Regions from separate parts of the Homo sapiens genome. Here regions 1, 3, 4 and 5 are each linked to region 2. Evidence: promoter capture Hi-C in human tissues and cell types (Jung and others, 2019). All regions are on one chromosome and are shown on one strand. The core of a region is centred on a gene start or on the middle of the fragment in contact, and the rest is flanking DNA. Distances in the headings are between cores, read along the strand shown. Region 1 overlaps NSMF (NMDA receptor synaptonuclear signaling and neuronal migration factor). Region 2 holds the start of LCNL1 (lipocalin like 1). Region 3 holds the start of TOR4A (torsin family 4 member A). Region 4 holds the start of NOTCH1 (notch receptor 1). Region 5 has its middle 23 kb from the start of NALT1.

What was found. Contacts are between HindIII fragments. The study calls those that stand out against the background at their distance.
Region 1: a contact is called between a fragment that was not itself captured here and the fragment with the promoter of LCNL1 in region 2, in 1 of the 25 tissues and cell types used here (spleen).
Region 3: a contact is called between the fragment with the promoter of TOR4A here and the fragment with the promoter of LCNL1 in region 2, in 1 of the 25 tissues and cell types used here (hippocampus).
Region 4: the fragment with the promoter of NOTCH1 here is called in contact with the fragment with the promoter of LCNL1 in region 2 in 1 of the 25 tissues and cell types used here (lymphoblastoid cells).
Region 5: a fragment that was not itself captured here is called in contact with the fragment with the promoter of LCNL1 in region 2 in 2 of the 25 tissues and cell types used here (aorta and spleen).

What each region holds. Positions count from the first base shown.
Region 1 is chr9:137,445,233-137,447,932 of GRCh38, forward strand. NSMF (NMDA receptor synaptonuclear signaling and neuronal migration factor) reads right to left here. Exons shown (of 16, transcript NM_001130969.3): 16 at 2,338-2,700. Among named protein-coding and RNA genes, the nearest start is that of MIR7114, 3.5 kb to the right of the region's middle. The HindIII fragment of the contact is 6,315 bases long and covers 1-2,700 here.
Region 2 is chr9:136,981,574-136,984,273 of GRCh38, forward strand. It overlaps LCNL1 (lipocalin like 1), which reads left to right and starts at 1,420. Exons shown (of 3, transcript NM_207510.4): 1 at 1,420-2,135. The coding sequence starts at 2,014. It overlaps PTGDS (prostaglandin D2 synthase), which reads left to right. Exons shown (of 7, transcript NM_000954.6): 7 at 6-169. The HindIII fragment of the contact is 9,863 bases long and covers 1-2,700 here.
Region 3 is chr9:137,276,355-137,279,065 of GRCh38, forward strand. It overlaps TOR4A (torsin family 4 member A), which reads left to right and starts at 1,372. Exons shown (of 2, transcript NM_017723.3): 1 at 1,372-1,553; 2 at 2,299-2,711. The coding sequence starts at 2,336. RefSeq lists silencers at 1,273-1,592, 1,873-1,932. The HindIII fragment of the contact is 16,896 bases long and covers 1-2,711 here.
Region 4 is chr9:136,544,575-136,547,349 of GRCh38, forward strand. NOTCH1 (notch receptor 1) reads right to left here and starts at 1,474. Exons shown (of 34, transcript NM_017617.5): 1 at 1,152-1,474. The coding sequence starts at 1,212. MIR4674 (microRNA 4674) reads right to left here and starts at 1,685; the gene lies at 1,599-1,685. RefSeq lists enhancers at 309-358, 2,331-2,775 and silencers at 589-638, 859-1,118, 1,139-1,698, 2,039-2,138. The HindIII fragment of the contact is 7,823 bases long and covers 1-2,775 here.
Region 5 is chr9:136,569,701-136,572,586 of GRCh38, forward strand. No RefSeq gene overlaps it. Among named protein-coding and RNA genes, the nearest start is that of NALT1, 23 kb to the left of the region's middle. RefSeq lists enhancers at 1-2,886, 1,105-1,632, 2,159-2,686, 2,687-2,886. The HindIII fragment of the contact is 8,565 bases long and covers 1-2,886 here.

The DNA.
Region 1 (2,700 bases), core at 3-2,502, 460 kb after region 2:
GAGACAAGGTCTTGCTCTGTCACCCAGGATGGAGTGCAGTGGCGTAATCTTAACTCACTGTAGCCTTGAATTCTCGGGCTCAAGTGATCCTCCTGCCCCAGCGTCCCAAGCAGCTGACACCACAGGCACGCACCACCACCACACCCCATTAATTTTTTTTTTACTTTTTGTAGAGACAGATATTCGGGCGCCCCCAGTCTAGCCACACGTATGCCCCCCAGTGGTGGTTCTGGGAATGACCAAGGTTGGCTGCTGAAGTCAGTTGTCTGGGTGAGTCAGAGTGAGACACACAGACACACTCACAGGCACGCCTGAGGGTTGGGGGGCGTTGGGGGTGGTTTTTGGGTACTTCTCAGCTCCTGGGCTCCCCAGACCTCCCTTCCCAGCCCTCAGGCCAGAAAGCAGGGGTGACAGAGCGCACAGAGACGTGGGAGATTTGGCAGCGGGAGGGGAGCTGACCCGCCTGCCTGCAGGCACCAGGACAGGTGCAGGGAGCCATCGGGGCCATCTTGCCCCTTTCAGGGACAGGTTTTATGTTTGCTGTCTCCTGCCCCCACAGAGGCAATGCTAACAGCAAGGGTGTGACCGCCACAGCTCCCTCCACCATTCCGATCATGTCTACATTATTGATTCCTGCTCACGGGGGTTTTACCTTACAGACAGGAATCACACCTCTGCTTGCCCTTAGACACTCCTGCACCCTGGCGGGAGGTCTCCACACAGCCCCCAGACCACACCCCAGGTCTCAAGGGTGGCTGCTCTGCTGGGTGCACATCCGGCCACGGGGCCACCCGGGGGGCCACTTGGGGTTGTGTAGTGAGCGTGGAAGTGCAGACCTGGGGGTCTGCACTTGAGAGCAGGGCAGGCAGGTCGCTGGGGCAGGCGGGGGCCTCCCCCGTGCTGTTCCCAGCCTGCCAGGTAGTCACGAGAGTGCATCCAGGCAGGTGGCAGGAGACATTGCACATCGATGTGAAGCGTGACCCAGTCACTTGGAACAGCTGGACCTGTTGCATCTTCCTCCTTAGCAATAAGCCTCGTGAGCATCGGATCCTTCCAGAAAAGCCATTGTGCGATCGGGCCACACCCAGATTAGCGGGCACAGCACAGCGGGGCAGTAGACACCCTCAGAAAAGGTGCCAGGGGGCGGCTGGGGCTGGACGGGCTTGTGCACTCATCAGTCACACTACTTTTAAGAGCTGTTACCAGATTACCTTAAAAAAAAAAGCTGTAACAGGCTGAGGAGGCAGGAGGATTGCTCGAGGCCAGGAGTTTGAGACTAGCCTGGGCAACAGAGTGAGACCCTGTCTCTACAAAACATAAAAGAATTAGCCAGGCGTGGTGATGCCTGTAGTCCCAGCTACTCCGGAGGCTGAGCGGGTGGGAGAATCGCTTGAGCCCAGGAGGTCAAGACAGCGGTGAGCCCCAGCCTGCGCGACAGATCAAAACCCTCTCAAATTGAAAAGGGGGTTACCTCGTCGCTTTCATTGGCCTTTCCATGATTCCTGATGGGATGAGGACTTTCTTCATGGAATTACCAGCCAGTTTCCTGCTCTGCGAATGATTTCTCCACATCTCTGCTCACTTTTCCATATCGGTTTTTGTCATTTTCTTTAGCAACATATAAAAACTCTTTAAATATTAAGGACCTTAATCACTCCCATGTGTGGCAAATATTTCTTATTTCTTCCCCAACTATTTCTGGCTGCTGCTGTTTTTGTATTTCAAGGGAGGCGAGGGCGGGTGCAGCAAAGTAGCCGAGGTTGCCCTGGTCACCGGCCCCCCGCCCTGGCCCAGCCTGCCTCCACTTGGGGCCACCTCCTTCCCCGTTGGCACTTCTGCGTCTGCTCCTGTGGGGCCACCTCCTTCTATGTCTGCTCCTGGGCCTGCTGGCTTTGACGTGTCTTCCTCCTTTCACTTCCCCCGGTGGTCATGGCATGAGGAATGGAACCTCATGGACCATACATAAGGCCCCCCAGGCCTTACTCACTCCAGCAGACCCTACGGACCGGACTGTGTGGGACAGGCATGCGGCTGGCAGCAGCCCCAGGAGCCACCTGACGGGTTAGGACTGCAGGGTCCCTGTGGCTGTTCTGGGTCTCAGAGCTCAGGTGACGGACAGATGTGCCTTTGGAGCAGTGCAGTGTGTGGGCACGTGGCGACCTCGCATGCTGTCCTACTTTGAAGAGTGCCACCCTTGAGGCCTGCACGGCAGCGTCAGCAGATTCCAGGCGGTGGCGACTTGTCTCATCAACTTTGCAGAAAGGAGACTCGGATCCCCCATGATTTCACGATATGTCACTTTCAAATAGTAACTGAATAACACAGAGTCTACAGGCATTTGGTATTTACCTAAAACTTTATACACTCAAATTGGCACCAAAACCTGCCCCCTCCCGGGACCCCATCTAGAATGCCCTGGAAGAGCTGGAGGTGGCTGACGGCTGTGTGACCACCCCCAGCACACTGGGCCTCAAGCCTGCCAGGCTGTGCCAGGCTGCGCACCAGTGGCCCCCTGACCCTAGCCCAGCTGATACGTGCTGCTCTGTCCCCCAGCCACGGGGCAGGGAACCAGCTGGCAGCCAGCCTGGCTGTGCCCAGCAGCGGTCTGGGCCCTGAGGACACCTGAGGTTGAGAGAGTGGCCCCCATCTGTGGCCACACTGCTGACTGCACACACAGTGTGGCGTGAGGGACATACAGCC
Region 2 (2,700 bases), core at 170-2,669:
CTCAGGACTCCCCAGGGCTGAAGCTGGGATCCCGGCCAGCCAGGTGACCCCCACGCTCTGGATGTCTCTGCTCTGTTCCTTCCCCGAGCCCCTGCCCCGGCTCCCCGCCAAAGCAACCCTGCCCACTCAGGCTTCATCCTGCACAATAAACTCCGGAAGCAAGTCAGTAGAGCTGGCTCCTGGCTGTCTGCGCTGTCATCACCCGTCCTGGGCCTGGCCCTGGCCACCCGGACCTCCCCCTCTAAAATCTCAGCCTGACGTCAACAAAGGAACAGGCCCTCTAGTGTTTGCTCCCAGTGGGGTCTTGAGTCAGGACAGCTAGGAGGGGGTGTCCCTCACTGTCTCCCACCCACCCCACACAGTCGTGTGCCCCTGCCCCACAGCCCCACACGTCGAGCCATACCCCCTCAGCTGCCACTGCCACCAGGCCGGTGCTGAGCTGGGGGTCAGTGACTCAGCTAATCCCTTAGGCAGGTGCCCTGCACCCCCAACGCCACCCTGTCACCCCCTCAGCAGTAAAGGCCTGAGGCTCGAGGCCCCAGAGGAGCTTTGGACCTGTTGGGTATCTTGAGGTGTGGGATTAACGCACTGAGATTGGGCAGAGATAAGGGTTTCAGGGGACAAAAAGAAACATTTGTTTGAAACATGCCAGAGTGTCTCCACCCCGCATCAGGACAGACTGACAGAGTGGGCTGGGGACAGGCTACCCCATATCCCTTCTGGCTCCCTGTGCGCCCCCTGCCCTCTGACCTGGGCCTCCAGATCACAGCCTTGTCCACTCACCAGAGCCCTGGCACCACGGCCACACCATGCCCGGCCAGTGCCCTGCCCAACCCTGCTCCCTTCCAGATTCCCACCCAGGCAGCCATTCTCAGGTACACAATGTGCAGGACTCACTGTGACCTGCCCACCAGGCCCCCCCGAGGCAGACCCTGCAGAGGCACCAAGCATTTTGAGGCTCGGAGGTGAGGGTGAGCTTCTGGGTGGCCTTCCCGGAGAAGGGGGCTTAGGGCTGTGCCTGAGCTCAAGGTAGGGGGGATTCCAACATCCCAGAGGGGCTGCAGAAGGCCGAAGAGGCAGGATGGGTGAGCTGCAGGCCCCCTAGCCCAGAGGCCCGTCAGAACTACCCTCAGCTGCCAGGCATCCGGCCCCACCCCGGAGGAAAGGCAACGGATGGCTGGGGTTGGGTGGAGGGAGCCAGGCCAGAGCGCTGCAGGGTGCAACTTGATCAGAAGCCTGTCACAGTGGGTGCAGTCCCAGGCCAGCCGCCCCAGGGCACCTCAGGGGCGTAAAGCCTACAGAGGAGCCACCTCAGCTCTGCCCTGCTCCCGTGTCCGGAGGAGATGCCATCTTGCTGCATGATGCTTCGGGCTCTGCTGATCAGTTCCCTCCTTGCCCTGCTCTGGGCATCCCCAGGCCAGGCCCAGGTCCCCATCCAGGCCAACTTTGATGCCAGCCAGGTGTGCCCAGCCCTGTTTCCTCCTCATCTCCAATGAGTCCTCCCGGCTTTGGTGCTGCACCCCGGGTCCCTGTCCACACCCTCTTTGATCCAGGCTCAGCAGGGCTAGGGGCAGGGGAAACCCCCACCTCACCCGCTCCGTCTGACTGGAGTAGGGGTTGGCTGGGGAAGACTGCAGCCTCCATCCTACCTTTTCAGTTGCATCCCCCAACAATCCCCAGGGCCCAAAATAGGGACAAGTTGGTTGCCTGTGCCTCACTGTCCCCCACCCACCCCACAAAGACCTGTGACCTTGCCACAGCCCCACCCATCCAGCCGTACCCCCTGGGTGCCAGCTGCAGACAGGCCGGTGCTGGGCTGGTGGGGGCCAGTTGCTCATGTACTGAGGCCCCCCTCCCTCAGTTCTGCATCGGGGTCGAGATGTGTACAGCAGCCCCTGCCGTGGCCAGGAAGCAGCTGTGTCGGGGCAGAATGTGGTGGGCTCAGGCCCAGGGCACAGGGGCGGCCTCCCAGCCTTCCCTGCACTTGCCCTGCAGTTCCAGGGCACCTGGTACATGGTCGGGGTGGTGTCAGATGACCAGGACTTCCTGGACTCCAAGGACACCATGAAGATGGCTGTGGTCTTAGTGACCCCCTTGGGGAATGGTGACCTGGCCCTCAAGTTTGGATACCCCACGTAAGTGACCACACGAGCCCATCAGACTCAGCCTCAGAGGATGGCCAGCATGAGGCCACATGAAGGTCCAGAGGGACCATGGTGTCCCCAGCACATTGAGGTCAGACCACGGGTCCTCGACGGCTCTGTGCGGCAGAGCCCCAGATGGCAGCCACACGGAGTCCAGAGGGACCCAGGCCCTGGAGGAAGCACTGCCTGAGGCCTGGTGTTGAGAAAAGTGTCTGCATGTCTGTGTCTGTGTGTGTATCACTGTATGTGGCTGTGTCTCTGTGTATGTGTGTCTATTTCTGCATGTGTGTGTGTCTGTGTGTGCGTGTGTATGCATGTGTGTCTTTGTAGATGTGTACCTCTGAGTGTGTATGTGTGTATCACTGTATGCGTCTGTGTGTCTGTGTGTCTGTGTATCTGTGTCTGGCTGTGTGTGTCTATCTCTGTGTGTGTCTTGTGTGCGTGTCTATGTGTGTGTCTGTCAGTGTGTCTGTGTCTGTGTCTATCTCCGTGTGTGTGCATGTGTGTATGTGTGTGTCTTCTGTGTGTCTGTGTCTGGAAGGGGGACCTGGAGGCC
Region 3 (2,711 bases), core at 122-2,621, 290 kb after region 2:
TGGGCCAGCCTCTGGCAGAAGCAGCTCCAGCCCTGGGTGCACTTGGAGGCAGGGCAGAGGCTTTGCTGCAGGTTTTCCAGGGCTCGGTCAGCCTGCATCTGCCCGAGGGCCTCCCCTCCAGGGTCCTCTCTGTGTCAGAAGAAGCACCGAGACTCAAAGCCTGAGGCCCCCAAAGGACCCCAACCTCCGTGCTGGGGCCACGGGGCCTGGACAGCCAACCTCCTTCCGCTCTGGTCCCACAGAGGCCGGGGAGTGGGCCCAAAGAGCACCAGCATTCCACCTGGTGTGTGCGGCCCCCGCGGCCTCGACAATTGGGGATCCGGGCCCCCGAGCACCCCTTGCACAGGGGAGGGGAGCCCTAGGCCTGGCTCCTGGAGGGGAGCGTGATAGTCCGGTGGACCCCATACCCTGGAGAGAATGGAAACCCCCAACCCACGACCGGTTTCCCTGATGGAGCCTGTCTGGTTGGGTGCAGTGTGTGAGGAATATACAGCTGGAACCATCAGGCCCGGGCTGGCTGTTGGGAGGAGTGGGGCGTCCCTGGGACTGCGGGGTCCTGAGCTGAATGCCAGCAGCACTGGTGTGGCTGGAGCGGCCACCTTGCCCCTCCTTGGAAGGCGGCTTCCAGGCTGGGCCAGGGTAGGAGGAGTCCAGGGTCCTTTAGGCAGGCCGGCAGGGGGAAGGGCCCAGAGCTCCAGCTCCTGGCTCCCGGCCCAAGTTGTTTCTAAATTTGTTCCCCAACCCCCACAGGGACCCTGAGCCGCACGTGGTTTTTTCCGTGATAGAACTTCCGTCTGTGTGTGCTGGCCTGTCCTGGGCAGGGGGCTCCAGGCTGGGGACGGAGGAAGGGGGAAAGGAAAGACAATGAGCCCACTTTGGGGGGCCCCCGATTGGGGTCAGGAGGGGAATGAAAAAGCGGGGAGAGGAGTAATAAGAGAGGGATTGGGGGTATGCAGCTCGGCAGAGGACCCTGCCCGCCCCCTGTGCTGCTGCCTTGCTCCCGCCTTGCTTACACAGGGCCTGGAGCCCCTCCCCCCAGCTGTAAGCCCTGTGTGTGGGGTGACAGGTGGAAGGGATAACCTGGGGGAGGTGGGGGCCCTGGAGGACAGGCTGAGGTGCAGGAGCCCAGGGTGGGGGCACAGCATGCAGCAGGGGCCCTCGGCCTCACCAGGTGTCCTGAGCCTGACCAAGCCAGGAGGGCTCTGAGCGCTAGAGAACTGAAGCGGGAATGTGACCTCCGGCCAGGGGATCTGGGCAAGCCGGCCAGGCCTCCCCCCTTTGGCGCCTCCGTCCAGCCCAAGTCCCGCCTGGGCCGCACCCCCTGACTCACTTCCTTTGCATAGAAGCGGAAACCTCCCCAGAGCTTCCTCTACTCCGGCCGGCCGCTCCCTGGGGACCCACAGGTGTCGCTGCCCCTCCAGGCCGAAGCTGGCCCAGGAGGCCCCTGGCCCACCCCCTCGCCCTGGGAGGCGCATTTCCTGCTTGGAGTCTCAGGCCCCAGCGTCTGGCACAGGCAGGGGCCTGCGGAGCTGAGGGCAGTGGACCAGCTGCAGGTAGGGGGTGGGTTGGGGCCCAGGGCCCAGTTCCTGCCAGTCAGTGGCTCTCTTGCTCCGACCGGCCTCTTCTTTCTGTCCATCTTTTCGTTTCACCTCCACTAGTCTCCGGGGGGCTCCCTGCACTGCTCAGCTCGTTCACTGGAGGGGTGTTGGGAGGACCCCAGTTTTGGAGTCGGGGCTGGGAGGCCTGGGTTGAGCCTGGGGACGGGGCCCGGGCCTATTCTCAAAATCATAAGTTCCAGCCAGACCCCCGCCAAGTGTTCTGGAGCGTGTGGGGGCGTCTCTGAACTCCTGGGCGCTCAGGCCTCTGCTTCCCGCGGCCCCTCCTTGGGAGACGGCCCAGTCCAGTGGGAGCCGCGGGCGGGGGCAGGGTCCGGGGGTGACTGTTCACCCCAGTGGGCGCCTGGGCGGCCACTGACTCCTTCGACGACTCCTCCAGGAAGCCGGGGCGGCCACCAGATAAGCCTCTACCCCGCCACTTCCTCAAGGCCCGCGGCCGTTTATGGGAAGACCCGAGAGATTTGCATCGGGGCCCTGCGGAGGGGCGGAGGGGCGGAGGGGCGGAGGGGTCGCTTGCCGGTCTGAGGGGCGAGGCCGCGACCAGGCCCCTGGCCCTGGGGCAGCCCGGGCCGCACCCCACGGGACTCCCAGGGGGTAAGATCACTCCGGGGACCGGTTCCGGCGGCCCGCGGGAAAGGGCAGTGGCGGGAGTCCAGAGACCCTCCCCGTCTTCCCGTTGCAGGGAGGGCGACCTGTATGCGGAGCGCCGTTCCTGCGACATGGACCGCGGCCAGCCCAGCCTGGAGCCTGCTGCCGCGGCCCCCCGAGCCTCGGGCCGGTGCGTGATCGCGCCCGTGCGCGCTGTGCTCCGCCTGCGCCGCCGGGTGTGTGTCCTACGCAAACGGCGCCTCCTGCAGCCGGGTGGGGGGCCCGACGTCGGGACCGGGGCGCCCAGGCCGGGCTGCAGCCCCCGGGCACCGCGCGCGGACCTGGACCAGCCAAAGTTCTTCACCTTCGACAGCCCCGCGGAGCTACCCTCCAGGACGCCACGCAAGAAGCGCCGGCGCAGCCGCCTGGTGCTTTACCCGGAGACCTCGCGCAAGTATCGGCCGCGCGTGGAGCACAGGAGCCGCGCGCAGCGCTGCCTTCTGCTGC
Region 4 (2,775 bases), core at 224-2,723, 440 kb before region 2:
GCCACACTCAGCTCCCGCCCGTGGGAAAATGCGACAGCTGCTCGCCCGCTACCCCGCCCGCCAACAAAGCGCCGGCCTCCGCCTCAGAATCAGAGCGGCCCATTGTGGAGTCGGGGCCGCCTCCAGGGGCACCGGGACAGCACCCTGGGGACGCGGCCCCGCCTCCGCCGACACCCAATACCTGCCTCCGCGGGCGCGCATCTCCAGGGCAGCCCCCATACACCCACAGGAGGGGGATGAAGGTCCCCCATTCGGAAGGAATTCGACCCCATCTCGAGAAGGGATCAATTACTCAAGCCCCTCCCTCCCCATCTTACCGGGGCTGAGAAACGGGGGAGGGGGGTGTGACACAGAGCCGCACTTTCTGGAAGAGGACAGATAATTCTCGCCTCCAACTCTCGGAGAAAGAGTGGATTAATCACTCGATTCCCCAGAGACCCCGCTCGCTGTGCGGCGGGGAGAAATGTAAGAGCCCCCCACCCGCGTCCCGCTCTCCGCCCCCAAGCTTTCCAAACTTCAACTCCGCAAAGCAAAAGGAAAGTTCAGTCCCCCCGGGCGCGGCGGCTTCTTACGCAACCCCTCCCCCAAACTGAGAGCCGGGCTGGGGGGCACCGGCGGGCGGGGCGACCGGGAGCCCGGGGACCCAGCCCGGCCGCGCGGGTCAGTGAAGGCGAACGCGGCGCCGCAGAGCCCACACTCCGCGCCCCAACATCCGCCCCGGCGTGGGCCAGAGGCGAAGAAGAAAGAAGATAAATGGCCCGGAGAAGCAACAGGAAACCAAAACCGACTCTATTCAAATCGAAAAATAGTAGGCAGCCCGCCCGCCCGGCCGACCGGCGGCAAGCCCCACGCGCGGCGGGTGAAGGGCGGGCCCGGAGTAGGGCCTCCGGGGCCCCAGCACCCCACACCGGCCTCCTAACTCGGCTCCAGGCACGGGCGGCGCGAGTCCGCCTCCACGGGGGGATCGAGGGGGAAGGTCGGTCCTCCCTGATCCCGGGACTCCAGAACCCCACGCCCCGGGCCGCCCGCTTTTCCCTCTCCATGCTGGCCTCCCCGCCGCCCGCTCCCAGCCGTGGGGCGCGCGCGCCGGGCGCCGCCAAAGTTTCCAAAGGGCGCGGAAAGTGGGGGCTCGCGGGTGGGTGGGCGCCTACCTCGTGCGGCGAGCGCGGGCAGCAGCGCCAGGCAGAGCAGGGGCGCCAGGAGCGGCGGCATGCCTCCCCACCGGCTGCCCTCTGCGCCCGGGCGGCGGCCTCCTGCGCTGGCCGGCGGGGCTGGGACGCACACGCGCGGCGTACGGTCCCGGGGCGGCGGCGGACGGTCCCGCCCTCTCTTCCCCGGCTGGCTGGCGGCGCTGTGCTCTCGCAGGCCCCCGGGCCCGGCTCCGCGCCCGGCTCGTTCCTTCGCTGCGCTCGCGCCCGCGCCCGCGCCCCGCGCCCCGCGCCCTTGCGCTCCCTCCCGCGGCCGAGGCACTAGTGAGGCTCAGAGTCGAGGTGCGCTCCGCCCCCGCCGGCCCCGCCCCGCCCGGCCCCACCCCCGCCGGTCCCCCCGCCCCCTCCGCGGCCACCTCCTCCCGCACGCCCCGTCCGCCTTTGCGCCTCCCCGAGCTGAGCCGCGCGTCCCGAGCCCAGCCTCTCCGGGGAGGAGGGACCCGGCGGCGCGGCGTGGGTCGGGAGCGGGCGCCTGGGACTACTTCTCGTTTGAAAGTTTTCAGAGGCCAAAAGTTTGAGCCGGGGCTGCGGAAGGATCCGGCTCTGGCGGTTGCCGCGCTCGGCGACAACTGGCGACTGAAATTTGCATGTGAATAAGCGGAGGAGCCCGGGGCGGAATGGGGAGGGCGAGGCCGCGGACAGCCGTGTGCACCGTGCGCTGGGCCGGGCGGGGAGCAGCTGAGGCCACGTTGGGGGACCCCGGGCCCGGGGCAGGGCTCTGGGAGAGTGGCCTAGCCGTGTGTGCGCCCCTAGCCCAGCGGCTTCACTCCCTCCCGAGGGCCCCGTGGCCGCGGCTTTAGGCGTCCAGAGGATCGATCGCCGCCAGACATCCCTGGCCGTGATTGCCCGAGCACTTGACCGCGAGGGATGGGGGCGCCGCGGCCTCTGGGCAGGGGACTCCGGGCGCCCCGAGGGAGCAGCCGGGACCAGTGCCTCGCGGACGGATTGTGCCCCGCTCCCCCAAGGGGGACCCGCGTCGACACGCTCCTCGGTCACCGTCCTCCTCCTGCCCGGGCGCCGCCTGCCTAAGGTGGCCCCAGAAAGCACAAACGGGTCGGGCGGATCTGCCGCTGGCGCCGGCGCAGCCCTTCCCACGTGCTCCTTCCGGCTGATTTATTTCTCCACCACGATGCCAGGCACGGGCACCCTGTGCCAAGCCTGGTTAAGCGCCAGGAGTCCAAAATGCCTGCCATAGTCCCTGCGCAAAGTTCACGGCCTCGTGCCAGGGACAGACAGCGCCCCCTCCCCACCCCAACACAGGGTGGTGAGTGCGATGGCAGAAGGCGCGTGTCCCGGCGCCCCTCCTGGAGTAGGAGGGCTAAGCCTGCCCTGCGGGGAGACCGAAAGGCTGGGAGGGACCTAGGACTGTGGGGGCCTGGGGGGAGGGCTGCAGAAACCCCAGAGCATGGTGGCAGAGGCAGGCACAGAAAGCAGGACAAATCTCACACCTGACCCCAGCAAGCCTTTCCTGGCACACCTCTTGCCAAATGCTGAGCACTCTGGAAACAGCCAGTGCAGGCGGCCTGTCCCGCCCCTGTAGCTGCTGCTGGGAGCCTCCCTCGCCTGC
Region 5 (2,886 bases), core at 112-2,611, 410 kb before region 2:
GTGCGTGCATGTGTCTGTGTGCATGTGTCTCTGTGTGTGTAGTGGTGTGTGTATGTGTGTGTCTCTGTGTGTACTGGTGTGTGCATCCGTTGGAGCATGTGTGCATGTGTGTGTGTCTGTGTGCACGTGTGTGCACGTGTGTCTGTGTGCATGTGTGCATGTCTGTGTCTCTGTGTGTGTACTGGTGTGTGCATGTGTGTCTCTGTACTGGTGTGTGCATGTGTGTGTCTCTGTGTGTGTACTGGTGTGTGCATCTGTTGGAGCATGCGTGCACGTGTGTGTGTCTGTGTGTACATGTGTGCATTGTGTGTGCAAGTGTGTCTGTGTGCACTGTGTTTGTGTGTACATGTGTCTCTATGTGTGTGTGTATTGTTTGGGTGGGGGTCCCCTGCTTGCTCTCAGCCCTCTCTTGGCCCGACCCTGCATCCCTGGGCCTGACAGCAGGTGGCATTGGCTTGGGCAAGCGGAGGGGAGAGGTGACTTCTGCCCAGGTGCTGCTGGCGCCCTCCTGCCTTCCCAGGCCTGTGGGATGGGAGGCTCAGAGCAGCCCAGAACAGAGAGGAGGGGAGGGCACCCCACACAGGGCATAGGCAGCGAGCTTAGAGCAGACCCTTGGCCCTGGCTGGGCGTGCAGTCACCATGGCACCTGACACAGTCACGCCAGGGTCACACCAGGTCAGCGAGAGGTTCTTGCCACAGACACAGCGTCTCTGGACCTCTGACTCGGGTCCCCAGTCCCTAGCCCTGCTGCTACCCCCAGGTTTTGCTAGGCTGTGCCCGAGATGTGCAGACCTCCTGAACTATCAACCAGGCTGGGCAGTCAGGCCCCGGTCCCCAGCCCGGGATCATTGTCTGCCCCGCCCTTTTGTCCTCTGGCCTCCCTCACCAGGACTGACCCCCATTTTCCCCAGACTTTTTGGTGCCCCCTGCACATCTCTCCTTCCCTTGCTGGGTGGCCCTGCTGGAGCCCTTCGCCCTGTCCCCCAGGGGGCCAGTGGGCTGGCACTGCCCCACCCCGAGATGGAAGGGAAGAGCTGCCCACCCCGAGCTGGGGAATGAGCAGCTCCCGGGCCTCTGGGGGCCCTGGCCAATCCCCTGGCCCCGGCCGGTATGCTGGTTCTCAGTGCCTGGCTGCCGGGGCCAGGGACAAAGGGAAGGGTAGGGCCCTCACCCACTCCCCAGCCTCTCCACAGCCTCCACAGAAAACCTGCTTCCAGGACAGCACGACGCCCCACGGCTGGGACAGACAGGGGACAGACCCCTGTGCCCAGGGCCTCCTGGCTGCCCTGGCCTCCTTTCCCCTAGGTCCTGGCCTCTTCCCTCCTTTGTCCTCCTGAGGCCCCCACAACCCTCCCCTCCCTCGCCTGCCGTCACCCCCGGACAGGTCCCACCTCCCGGCCTTCGCACACAGTTCCTTCTGCCTGGTGTGCGTCTCCTGGGAGCCCGGGAGCCGTGGTGCTGACTCTGGGCCGGCCTCTCCTTCTGACGTTTATCGGCCGCTCACCTCCCACGCCCTGGGAGTCGTTACCACCTCCCCAGTTTCACAGACGGAGACACAGGGAGTCGTTACCACCTCCCCAGTTTCACAGACAGAGAGACAGACACAGAGACAGAGACACAGAGCCCCGACACTCAGAGCTGGGGTCAGTCCCAGGCGGCCTCAGCCACCACACCGCGCCACGCCCTCGGTGAGGATCCAAAGAGCCAACATTCTAGGGGGCTGAAGGGCAGTGTGGGGGCTTCAGGGATATTCCCCACTTGGTCCTTCCTGGCTGTCCCCACTGAGAACAGCCCTTCCTAGTCCCATTTCTGAGTGAGCTGGGGTTCCTGGAGTGAAGGCCATGGCTTCAAATGTAGGCCGGGGCAGCCTCCCCCGGGTTCCTCCTCCCCGTGTGGACAGCTCAAGTCCCTGCAGTCCCCTCCACCCTGGCCCTTCCCTGCTGTCCTGTGGGGTTTGCTGGGGAATCTGAAAGGCCTTGGAGGGAACAGGAACCAGGTCCTAGGAGCCCGCAGGGACTTCTGAGCTGCTGGCAGTCTCCCCACGCTGGCCGAGCTCACAGCCCCAGCGCTGGCCCAGAGTGAAGGTCTGCACGATGGACCCCATGCAGCCGCCCACATGGCCTTCGGCCTGTCGGTCAGGAGGCCTCGCCCTTCTCACGTCCTTAGTGGATTTCCTCCCTTCCTCTGTCCCCTTCTGCCCCATCTCAGCTTCCCATCTCCCCCACGCCCTCCCCACCTTGGGCTGAAAGCAGATACCTTCTCAGGACGGGGTCTCCTGTGCCATTTTACTGCTGAGACCACTGAGGCCAACAGAGTGGCTACAGGGTTGCTGGCAGTTGTAGCCACCCAGGTCAATGGCACTCCCGGGAATTGTGCAGTTTACAACCGGCACCACTGTGCTTGGCAGCTCTTGATGACTCCTACTTGGTGCTTAAACCTGGCCAGTCTCATCTCTCCCTACCCTCTGTGCTGACAGGCTCGAGTGACAGCAAGCGTCAGAGGCTTGGGGGTGCGGGGCCGGCCCCTTGGTGGGCTCTGCCAGCATTCTTGGGATGCCTGTGTCCATTCAGCAGTCAAGGCACTCACTATGCAAACATGCAGGGCCTCACACAATGGTCCCCGCCAGACTTTCCCACCTCCTCTCTACCCCCATTGTCCTTCCCTCTGGGGAAGGGCAGCATAGCCAGGAGGCAGAGACAGAGCCAGTGCCTTTCTGCAGGGCGGGTGTACCCAGAGATGAAGGGCCATGCACATAAGACACTGATGAATGAGGCCAGCGTCCCCAGAAACGCGGCCCTGGAAGCTGCCCCAGCCCAGGCCGGAGGGAGGGGCTGTCCCACCTCCCTGTCCCTCCCGCATCTCTGGACCTGAAGCTCAGACCCTGGG